Regions from separate parts of the Homo sapiens genome. Here all the other regions are linked to region 1. The links are contacts of gene promoters, found by promoter capture Hi-C in human tissues and cell types (Jung and others, 2019). All regions are on one chromosome and are shown on one strand. Each heading gives the region's core, a stretch centred on a gene start or on the middle of the fragment in contact. The rest is flanking DNA. Distances are from core to core; before and after follow the strand shown. Region 1 holds the start of ISM2 (isthmin 2). Region 2 overlaps POMT2 (protein O-mannosyltransferase 2). Region 3 overlaps SNW1 (SNW domain containing 1).

Evidence for each region. The method cuts DNA at HindIII sites, captures the fragments that hold promoters and counts their contacts. A contact is called where the count stands out against the background at its distance.
Region 2: a contact is called between a fragment that was not itself captured here and the fragment with the promoter of ISM2 in region 1, in 1 of the 25 tissues and cell types used here (bladder).
Region 3: a fragment that was not itself captured here is called in contact with the fragment with the promoter of ISM2 in region 1 in 1 of the 25 tissues and cell types used here (bladder).

What each region holds. Positions count from the first base shown.
Region 1 is chr14:77,497,178-77,500,904 of GRCh38, forward strand. It overlaps ISM2 (isthmin 2), which reads right to left and starts at 1,639. Exons shown (of 7, transcript NM_199296.3): 1 at 1,476-1,639. The coding sequence starts at 1,616. RefSeq lists silencers at 1,123-1,182, 1,223-1,432, 1,703-1,892 and an enhancer at 2,263-2,322. The HindIII fragment of the contact is 11,286 bases long and covers 1-3,727 here.
Region 2 is chr14:77,302,289-77,306,001 of GRCh38, forward strand. POMT2 (protein O-mannosyltransferase 2) reads right to left here. Exons shown (of 21, transcript NM_013382.7): 4 at 2,404-2,512; 5 at 547-655. Among named protein-coding and RNA genes, the nearest start is that of POMT2, 17 kb to the right of the region's middle. RefSeq lists enhancers at 710-1,211, 1,212-1,711. The HindIII fragment of the contact is 6,861 bases long and covers 1-3,713 here.
Region 3 is chr14:77,722,834-77,726,340 of GRCh38, forward strand. It overlaps SNW1 (SNW domain containing 1), which reads right to left. Exons shown (of 14, transcript NM_012245.3): 11 at 348-444. Among named protein-coding and RNA genes, the nearest start is that of SLIRP, 16 kb to the left of the region's middle. The HindIII fragment of the contact is 6,691 bases long and covers 1-3,507 here.

The DNA of each region.
Region 1 (3,727 bases), core at 389-2,888:
GCCAAGATGGTGAAACCCTGTCTCTACTAAAAATACAAAAATTAGCCAGGCGCGGTGGCAGGCGCCTGTTATCCCAGCTACTTGGGAGGCTGAGGCAGGAGAATAGCTTGAACTCGGGTGGCAGAAGTTGCAGTGAGCCAAGATCGTGCCACTGCACTCCAGCCTGGGCAACACAATGAGGCTCTGTCTCAAAAAAAAAAAAAAAAAAAAAGGAAGAAGAAGAATGGCTGGGCACCATGGCTCATGCCTGTAATACTGGCACTATGGGAGGCTGAGGCAGGAGGATTGCTTGAGGTCAGAAGTTCAAGACCAGCCTGGGACACACAGTGAGACCCCCCCATCTCTACAAAATAAAAAATAAAAAAAATTAGCCAGGTGTGGTGGTGCATGCCTGCGCTCCCAGGTACCCAGGAGGCTGAGGCTGGAGGATCGATTGAGTCCGGGAGGTTGAGGCTACAGTGAGCTATCATCACACCACCGCACTCCAGCCTGGGTGACAGAGAGAGATCCTGTCCCAAAAATAAAATAAAAGAGAGGGAGAAAGAAAAAGTAGGAAGGAAGGAGGGAGGGAGGGAGGGAGGGAGGGAGGGAGGGAAGGAAGGAAGGAAGGAAGGAAGGAAGGAAGGAAGGAAGGAAGGAAGGAAGGAAGGAAGGAAAAACGGCAAGATGGGAAGAGCTATTCGGGCCTCCTACAGCTTAGTACATGGAAGGACCCAGGACCCAAGACCTAAGACCACCTGCCACATAGGACTGCTCCTGCATACCCTAATACAAGTCTGGCTGTCTTTGTCCCCATGGGAATGAACGTCCGCTGCATTCCAGGGGGCAATAAGCTGGACTGTAGACCCCTCAGTGACTGGAAGACACAGGGTTTGACAGACCATGGCTTCTCTCCATGGCCAACACCACTCTTCCATCTCATTCCTGTTTTATACCCCAATGCCCACCCACAGGCCACGAGGACAGAGCCAGTCTCAGGCTGGCCACCCCTGCCGGCGGCTGGAGAGCCCCACTGTGCCTCCGCTTGTCTCATGGAAGGGGCTCACCTGACCGTTTGAACCTCAGCGGCCCTGGCCCGCCACTCCGCAAAGCGCCAGATTCCTCGCACCGGCGGGACTCCTCTCCGAGCTAGCGCGCACCTGGAAAGGGGGCTGCAGGCGAGGTCCGCTCAGGGCGAGGAAGCCCGGCCACCGTGGAGTGTCGGCCACCTCACTCCGCACAGAAGTCAAACTTGTCACCCGGCTGGTCCGCGGCAGCCCGGCTCGCGGTCACGCGCGAGGAGTGGAAGCCCCGAAGTCCGGCGCACCTGGGCAACGCCCGGTGTCCGGGAGCTTCCGGCCGGCCCCGGCCCCTCTCTCCATCGGGGGGTCGCTGCCTGTGTGTGTCCCGGTCCCGCTCCCCGCACGGCTGGAGCCGGCGGGCTGGGGAGGTGGGACCGACAGCGCGCTCCGCAGCCCGGTGCCGCCGCCACTCACCTCTGCGAGCCTCGTGAGGCTCCCAGGCCGTGGTCCGCGGAGCCGCGGCTTCTTCACGGGGAGCCCTAGCGCCGCCTCCAGCAGCGCCGCCAGCAGCAGCACGCAGAGGAGGAGCCCGGCTCGGTCGCGGAGCGCACGCATCGTCTCGGTTCCGAGGCTGCTCTGCCTGCACCTCTGCACGCGGCCGCGAACCCAGTCGCGCCCCGCCTCGCCTCCTCCGGGGGCGGGACCCGGCGATCCTGAGGGGCGCGCGGGGCACGGGGCCGCGCGGGGCGGGGGCGCGCAGCTCGCACAGCCTCTCTGGCCCCGGCTCCTCGCGTGGGCGCCCGCACAGCTCTAGGGTCCGCGCACCTGGACGTCCCCCACCCTCCTCCGAGGGGCCCCTCGGCGCTCCCCGACCCGTCTTGACCCTGTGGGCGGCTCTCTTTGATCTGGCCGCCTCCCCGCCCTCAGTCCCCGCCGCTGTCGCCGTCGCAGCCCCCAGCGAATTCCTGTTCGCGGGAAGCTGCGGCCCGGCGCGCTCCGGCCCTGCGCTGCGACTCCTGCGGGGCCCTGAGGGTCCGACGCCACCTCTGCCCTCCCCGACCGCGCTCCAACTGCGACCTGGACCGGCGGTGCCGCGCGGGCGAGGGAGGCGCAGCCCGACGGGAGAGTGGCGCGAGTCTTCGGATGCCGGGCAGATGTTTGGTTATGCCTCGAGGAAGGTTTGCTGGGGAGGAAGCCTAGAAGTAACTCCCCCAGGGCTCTTCCCAGTCTACTGCCGGAGGTGGAGACCAGAGCAGAGGCACAAGCCAGCACCTGCCATTCTGCACCCAGTGTCCTCGGAATGTTCTCAGAGCACTTTTAAAAACCGGAGAGTCGGCCGGTGGCTCACGCCTGTAATCCCAGCAGTTTGGGAGGCCGAGGCAGGAAGATCACTTGAGGTCAGGAGTTGAGACCAGCCTGGCCAACAAGGTGAAACCCCGTCTCTACTAAAAATACAAAAATTAGCCGGGCGTGGCAGCGCGCACCCGTAGTCCCAGCGGGTGGGAGCCCCGAGGTCCGGCGCACCTGGCCCACACACAGGTGGGAGAATCGCTTGCACCTGGGAGGCAGAGGCTGCAGTGAGCCGAGATTGCACTATTGCACTCCAACCTAGGCGACAGAGTGCGACCCTGTCTCAGAAAACAAAACAGGAGAAAGTTGAGACTCAGATGTGAGGATAAAGTCCCAGAAGGACAGCCGGGAGTCTGGTCGTCGCCTAGTTGTATCCTGGGTGAAACAGTGAAACTGCCCACTTCATCCAGTGGGACCCTTGGTGCAGGGATCCTCACGTAGGCCACGAGGGTCACCAAGATGGCCTGCCTCTGAGCAACCGACACAAAACCTTAGCTTGTGGCAAAGATCAGGAACTCTTGAGAGGCAGTGCCAATCTGGATGGGGCAGCTTGGGAATGTGAACGCAGTGACACCAGGTAGGGGGAGGGGTTGGGACAGGTCGGTGAGGAGCAGTCACAAGGCACTGGGGACATGCCCACCCAGGGGTCATAGCAGGGCGCACAAAGGATGACTCAAGTTTCAGGGCAGGGTTGGTGGATCCCCAGGGGTGGTAGAGAGGATGAAGAGCAAGCCCAGCTACTGGTGTAAACTGCTGGGTCTGGGTCAAGTTAGAGTAAGACTGTGGGGGGACTGTGTGCTTTTCTGGAACTACTCCTATTCCCAGGGGCACAGCTGCAGGGTTTTGAATGGTGCATCACAGGGATGACAACCTGGGTCTGGATTCGGCCATGGGGACTGGAATCTTTCACCATTTACCAAGTAGGTGATATTATTGGACAAATTATTTGACGTCTTCGTGCTCTTGTCATCTGTAAAAGTGTGGGGGCCCGGGAGCAGGAGAGGTTACCCCTCTCACCTGGGCACCAAGTGTGAGAAGTGTGAGTAAATGAGAAGTAAATGTGAAGTAAATGTGAGTAAATGAGAAGTAAATGTGAGTAAATGAGAAGCCAGGTTTCCATGTTGAGAATTTGTATTAGAATGAACTATATGAAGTTGCCATGTTTTGTTCAAAAGGTCGAATATTGGCAATTTCATATGGTGCAACCTAATAGGGTGCCTGGTACATGGTAAACACTCAAATGTTAGCCTAAAGAAACCCTGTTTATGAGCACCTGCTAGACCATATTGCATTTACTAGACTAAAGGCAAGGCCACCTTGTTCTTTTTCAGGAATTTTTTTTTTTTTTGGTATAAATATTTTTACATCCTGCCTAT
Region 2 (3,713 bases), core at 325-2,824, 190 kb before region 1:
TGGAAGGATCCTCTTGGCTGGTATGGACCATTCAAGCCAACCTTTACATATGCTATTCCCATCATTAGGTCAGGACTGGATGCAACCACTGACGAAAGGGAGATAGTTTCCAGGCAGCATCTACCCTGGTGCCCTCCCTTCTAGGACAGAGTATGTGAAGGACAGCCCTGTCCCGGGATTTCCTAACCAGCACTGGTTACAAGAGGTGGGTGGGGAAAGTATTAGGACCCCCCATGATATCCCAAAACCCCTACCCAATTGTACTCCATTGTAAACATGATAATAATAATACGCTTGAAAAAGACAACTGACATTTTCTCGGTCTTGAATATGGCAAAAATAAAATCACCTGTAGAAAACTTTTTAAAATCTATTTTTATGATCTAAAATGGACAATCTAAGTTAAAAAAACAAACAAAAAGTATGCTTGCCTTAAAATCAGCTTCAAGACAAGTCTCTGGGCACCCGCCCTGGCCCTGGCCATTACAGAAATTTTGGAGTTGCCACAGCTTCCAACCCTCCCCTCCCGGGGATGGAGTTTCTGACCTGTCGGCGCAAGAGTTGTACTTGACCATGCTCAGCATGGCAGCCATGATGAAGAACATCAGGATGGGGTCAAGGAGGATGTACTGGGACAGAGTGAGGCATCCCGTGTCTGAAAAACATGAGCTCGCTGGTGAAAAAGCGAGGTAAGAGAAGGGCCCCCTGAAAACCAAGCACCCCAGTAGTAGGAAACAGTCCCTCTTGCCACTTAATTGAGTGTAAGCACTTGTGCAGTCAGGACTAGAGTCAACACTGAGTCATCAGGGAGGTAGAAGGCCACAGCTCTGGGAGACATCAAAGCCCAATGACAAGAAGCAGTAACTCACACTGCCTCTAGGCCCTCAACCCAAGAGAGGATCATGTCATTCGCTCCCTCAGACCAGCCCTGAGACAAGGTGTCATCCTCATTTCCACCATCAAAAAGGGAGTCCTACCACTCTGCTCATGTAACCGCAAACTATCTACACCTATGATAGAATCTTATCATTTTACATGAAGTCTCTCTTGGGGGTCGATTCTCCAGACAGATGGCAGAGTGATGTTTTTTAATTTAAATCCTTAAATCTCATTATGTCATGCCCCTGCTTAAACCCTCCAATGTCTTCCAACCTCACTCAAAGTAAAAAGTTCTCATGACAACTGCCAGAGTCTGTGCGGTCTCCCTACCCATCTAACCTCATCTCCCAACACCCTCTGCCTCACTCACTCTGCCCTTTCCACGCCAGCCTTCTTACTGTGATTTGAACCCACAGAGGTCCACACCAGAACTACAGTACATGCACTTCCCTCTGCCTGAATGCTCTTCCCTCAGATCCCTGCAGGGCCTGATCCTTTGTCTCACTCAGGTCTCTGCTCAAAGCTCCCCTCTCAGAAGCTCTTTCCTGACTATCCTGTCTAAAATAGTACTGATCTCCATTATTCCATCCCTTACACTGCTTTATTTTCTACACTGCACTTGTGGCTTAGGACATCACATGACAGACTTATTCATTTACTTGTTTATTTACTGTCTGCCCCACGATGAGGTAAGCTCAATGAGACCAGAGTGACTCATCAGTGTATCCTCTCAGACTAAGAAAAGTGGCCGGGAGCTGGGTAGGTGCTTGAGAAATAACTATTGAATGAAAAGTACATAAATGACTAAATGAATGAATAACTGAAGATGGAAATTCAAGATACAAGGAAAAAGCCACCAGTCCTCTATAGAGAAAGCCAATAATCTTGCAATCTATCTGTCAAAACAAAGCAACATATCTGTCAAAGCAAACCCCTAAAGTACCCCATTTAAATTGGTCTAGACTTCTTTAAATGTTAAGCTCCACAAGGTCATGAATTCACTTTCATAGGAACAAAGCTAGCAACAGGATCAACTTCTACGATGAACTCTCATTTATCCATGTGAAGATTATTATCCAAGTTCCCATTTTGCTATCTCTTGCCACCCAGCTACTTCTGCATTTACCTTTATATTCAGTTGAAATTAGTTAAGGAATGCAAACTAATCTTAACTTAAGAGAAGCAAAATTAGAATTATAAGCTTCCTTCAAAAACACACATACTCACATACAAATCTATCTTATTACCCATTCCAAACTCAACCGTGAATAACGTGGAGGTAAATCTATTCCTTGGGATTACCCACGCCGATTCTCCCCTCCAATAATATAAAGGCTTGTTATATATAACTATTGATATACATTAAGTATTACTAGTGAATGAGATTTGTAGTACATTTTACCCAATCCTAAAATTAATTGAACTGGACCCACATATAGGGCCCTTGAATGTACTGATTTTCAGCTACATTCACGGAGTGGCAGCCCATTTCCCAAAAGCCATGGTATGGCTAAGACAACTTACCAAAGGTGAGGAGGGCAGCTGTGAGCAGTGCTGCCGAGAGGGACTTGGACAGATCCAGTACAGTGAGGTAGGCAAAGGGGACCAGCCAGGAGCCAAGGAATGCACAGAACTGTGGGAGGAATAGAGAAGCTGTCAAATAACAAGCTGAGCTAGGTCAGCGACCTACTGGACTCAGTACAACCTAACATTTAAGACAGGGGACCTGATGAAGGCATGACTTTGGTGACCTAAAGTCACCTAGGATATCTATAACTAAGAAAAGAGTATTGTAATAGTGAAGAGCCAAATCAAGCAATATATATGTTCCCATTAAGCAGCAACTTGTGCACTGACATGAAATCAGCAAGTTCAGCCAGGAAGGTGTGGGTAGGAGACAGGGAGAAAAGCAACCAAGTAGCTACACACCAGGAATAGAGAGAAGGGAAGAAAATGAGTGTTATTAACACACAGATAGTAATTGATAGCCATTAGCTTCTATTACACAACTGTAGGTACAAGTTGAGAAAGACCCCTCTGAAGGTATTTCAGAGAATTTTAAGGAACCCCTAGTTCTTTTCTTCATTTACACCAGAAACCAGTCTTTAATCTACACAATGTATGTATTTTGATTTTGGGAAAAGGGATTGCTTGATACTTCAGTAGCTGGATACCTGTTTGGTTTTTTGTTTTTTTAAGCTGCTGGCCCTCTTCCATCCCCTACCTGTCCATCAAAATAAACAGACAAGCCAGAAGAATGGGAAATTCTCACGTTTGGTTGTCACATCCAATTATGTATGGTATGTGGTGTTCAAAAGTTATTAGGAAGACACAGAATCACTTAAGAACAAGAACTTGAGGGTAGGATATACTCCTTGTTTAATATACCACGATATAGCCATGCAAATCATCTAACGATGAGGCCAAATAAGCACACAGCCATTTATTTAAATGCTGTGAAATCCTCAAGGAAAGGGGCTTGTAAATGCAAACTTCTCTGAGAGGTCCACACTGGAGGTCAGCTTCTGCTGGCTTCATTCAGCCACACGTTCAAGGTTCCCAAAGAGTTGGGTGTTAAGGCCCTGCCATGTTCCATCAAGGCTGGTGCTGTAAATCAGGACACAGAGGGACTGCAGCAGACATTTGGCCTCCCTTCAAATAAGGCTGGAAAACTCTTTCTGTGTGCCTGAAACCTTCATGGGGAAAGACACAGGAACATGGTGACAGGGTGTGGGGATGCCAAAATCTTCAGAAAAGGCTCTGAGATGTAGGCAACACTCCAGCAGCTGTGGCTGTGAGGGGAGGAGCAGGCAGCGTGCCAGTGCATGGAGGCA
Region 3 (3,507 bases), core at 180-2,679, 230 kb after region 1:
ATATCTTTTTTTTTTTTTTTTTTTTTTGTGAGATGGAGTCTCGCTCTGTCGCCCAGGCTGGAATGCAGTGGCGTGATCTCGGCTCACTGCAAGCTCCACCTCCCGGGTTCACGCCATTCTCCTGCCTCAGCCTGCCAAGTAGCTGGGACTACAGGCGCCTGCCACGACCATGCCCGGCTAATTTTTTGTACTTTTAGTAGACACAGGGTTTCATCGTGTTAGCCAGGATGGTCTCGATCTCCTGACCTCGTGATCCGCCCGCATTGGCCTCCCAAAGTGCTGGGATTACAGGGGTGAACCACTGCGCCCGGCCACCATGATTGGTACACATCTTAAATAACACCTACCTCTTATCAGGAGCTGCCCTGGAAAGATTCCGGTCATGCTGTCTCTCTTTTCGCCTGTCATGCCGGATTTCATCCCTCTCACGTGCCTCCCCATCCTCTGTGTGAACAGTTGAAAAGTACTTCACTGTAATATGTATTATATGTGTGCATACGTGTACACGTGTGTATATATATAATTTTTTAAAAAGAGACAGCATCTCACTCTGTCACCCAGGCTGGAGTGTAGTAGCATGAACATGGTTCACTGCAGCCACTACCTCCTGGATTCAAGTGATCCTCCTGCCTCATCCTCCCGAGTACCTGGGACCACAGATGTGTGCCACCATGCCTGGCTAATTTTTAAATTTTTTGTAAAGATGGGGTCCCACTTATGTTGTCGAGGCTGGTCTCAAACTCCAGGCTCTAGTGATCTTCCCACCTAGGCCTCCCAAAGTGCTGGAGTCACAGGTGTGAGCCACTGCACTCAGCCCCATTAGTATTTTGTTTGTTTTGAGACGGAGTTTCGCTCTTGCTGCCCAGGCTGGAATGCAGTGGCGCGATCTCAGCTCACCGCAACCTCTGCCTCCCGGGTTCAAGCGATTCTCCTGCCTCAGCCTCCCAAGTAGCTGGGATTACAGGTGTGCACCACCATGCCGGGCTAATTTTTTATTTTTAGTAGAGATGGAGTTTCACCAAGCTAGTCTCAAACTCCTGACCTCAAGTGATCTGCCGCACCCAGCCAATATTCTGAACAAGAGAATATTTTTTAACCTTAGAAAATTCCAAACTTCTTTGTAGTCACACTCAGCCTTTTAAACCTTACTTGCAATTAATTTAAGTCTAATAAATGATATTAGTTTAATTTTTGAATGTGAATTCTAGAATCAAGCATGCGGCTAAAATATTTAAGGGTAAAATGTATTGCTGTCTTCAACTTACTTTGAAATGCAATGCAGTAAATCGGACAGACAGATGGACAGAAAGATGGGCAAATATGTGATAAAGCAAATTTATCAATGTTAATTGCTTTTAAAATTTATTTTTGATATATAATCATTATACATATTTATGGGGTATATATATTTGATACATGAACAAAATGTGTAATAATCAAATCAGGGTAATTAGGATATCCATCACCTCAAACATTTGTTTGTGTTGGGAACATTCTAAATCTTCTAGCTATTTTGCAATATACAATAAATTATCATTAACTATTCTTCTCTTCTAGCTATTTTGCAATATACAATAAATTATCACTAACTATTCACCCCACTGTACTAGGAACATTAGAACTTACTCTTTCTAACTGTATTTCTGTACCATCAACCAATCTCTCTTCATTCCCTGTCCCCAACATCCTTCCCAACCACTGGTAACCACCATTCTACTCTCTGCTTCCTTGAGACCAACTTTTTTAGCTCCCACATACAAGTGGGAAGATTCAGTATTCGTTTTTCTGTGCCGGGCTTATTCACTTAATAACCTTCAGTTCCATCCATATTGTTGCAAATTACATGATTTCATTCTTTTTTATGGCTGAGTAATATCCCATTGTGTATATAGACCACATTTTCTTTATCCATTCACCCACTGGACACAACTTGATTCCGTATCTTGGTAACTGTAAAGAGCACTGCAATAAACATGGAAGTGCAGATATCCCTTTTTGATTTGATATACTGATTTCCTTTTGGATATATACCCAGCAGTGAATTGCTGGATCACGTAGTGGCTCTATTTTCAGTTTTTTGAAGAACTGCCATACTGTTTTCCATAGTGGCTGTACTAATTTATATTCTTACTAAAAATGTACTAGTGTTCCCCCCCTTCTGTATCCTCGCCAGCATCTATTATTGCCTTTTTAATGATAGCCATTTTAACTGGAGTGACATAATATCTCACTGTGGTTTTGATTTGAATTTCCCTGATGATTAGTGATGCTGAACATTTTTTCATACACCTGTTGGCCATAAGTATGTCTTCTTTTGAGACCGTCTATTCAGATCATTTGCCCATTTTAAAATCAGATTATCTCGTTTCTTTGCGATTGAGTTCTTGTACATTCTGGTTATTAATTCTTTCTTAAATGGATATTTTGCAACCATTTTCTTCCATTCTGTAGGTGGCCTCTTCAGTCTGTTGACTGCTGTGCAGAAGCTTTTCAGCTTGACGCAATCCCATTTGTCTATATTTGCTTTTGCTGTCTGTGCTTTTGAGATTTTACCCAAAAAATCTTTGTCCAGACCAATGTCCTGAAGCATGTCCCCAGTGTTTTCATCTAGCAGTTTCATAGTTCAGGCCTTACATTTAAGTCTTTAATCCATTTTGATTTGATTCTTGTATGTGATAAGAAATAAGAGGTCTATTTTCATTCTTTTGCATGTGACTATTCGGTTTTCACAGCATTATGTATTGAAGAGACTATCCTTTCCCCAATGTATGCTTTGGGCATCAGCGTTAAAAATCCACGCATTGGCTGGGCATGGTGGTGGTTCATGCCTGTAACGCACTTTGGGAGGCTGAGGCGGGTGGATCACTTGAGGCCAGGAGGTTGAGACCACCCTGGGTGTAATGGCAAAACCCTGTCTCTAAAATAACACAAAAATTAGCCAGGCGTGGTGGTGCGTGCCTTAGTCCCAGTTACTTGGGAGGCCAAGGTGGGAGGATAGCTTGAGTCTGAGAGGCGGAGGTTGCAGTGAGCTAAGATTACACCACTGCACTCCAGGCTGGATGACAGAGTGAGACGTTGTCTCCAAACAATCAAAAATTCCATGCATTTATAGCCGATCCATTTATTTCTGGGTTCTCTATTCTGTTCCACTGGTCTATGTGTCTGTTTTTATGGCAGTACCATGCTGCTTTGGTTACTATAGCCTTGTAGTATATTTTGAAGCCAGGCAGTGTGATGCCTCCAGTTTTTTTTCTTTTTATTCAGGATTGCTTTGGTTATTTGGGGTCTTTTGTGGTTCCATACAAATTTTAGTATTGTTTTTTCTATTTCTTTGAAGAATGTCATTGGTATTTTGATAGGGATTGCATTGTGTCTAGAGCTAGCTTTGGGTAGTATGAACATTTTAACAATAATAATTTTTCCAATTCATGAGCATGGGCTATCTTTCCATTTTTAGAGTGTCTTCTACAATTTCTGTTTTTAAAATTTAATTTTTTTTCTTTTAAA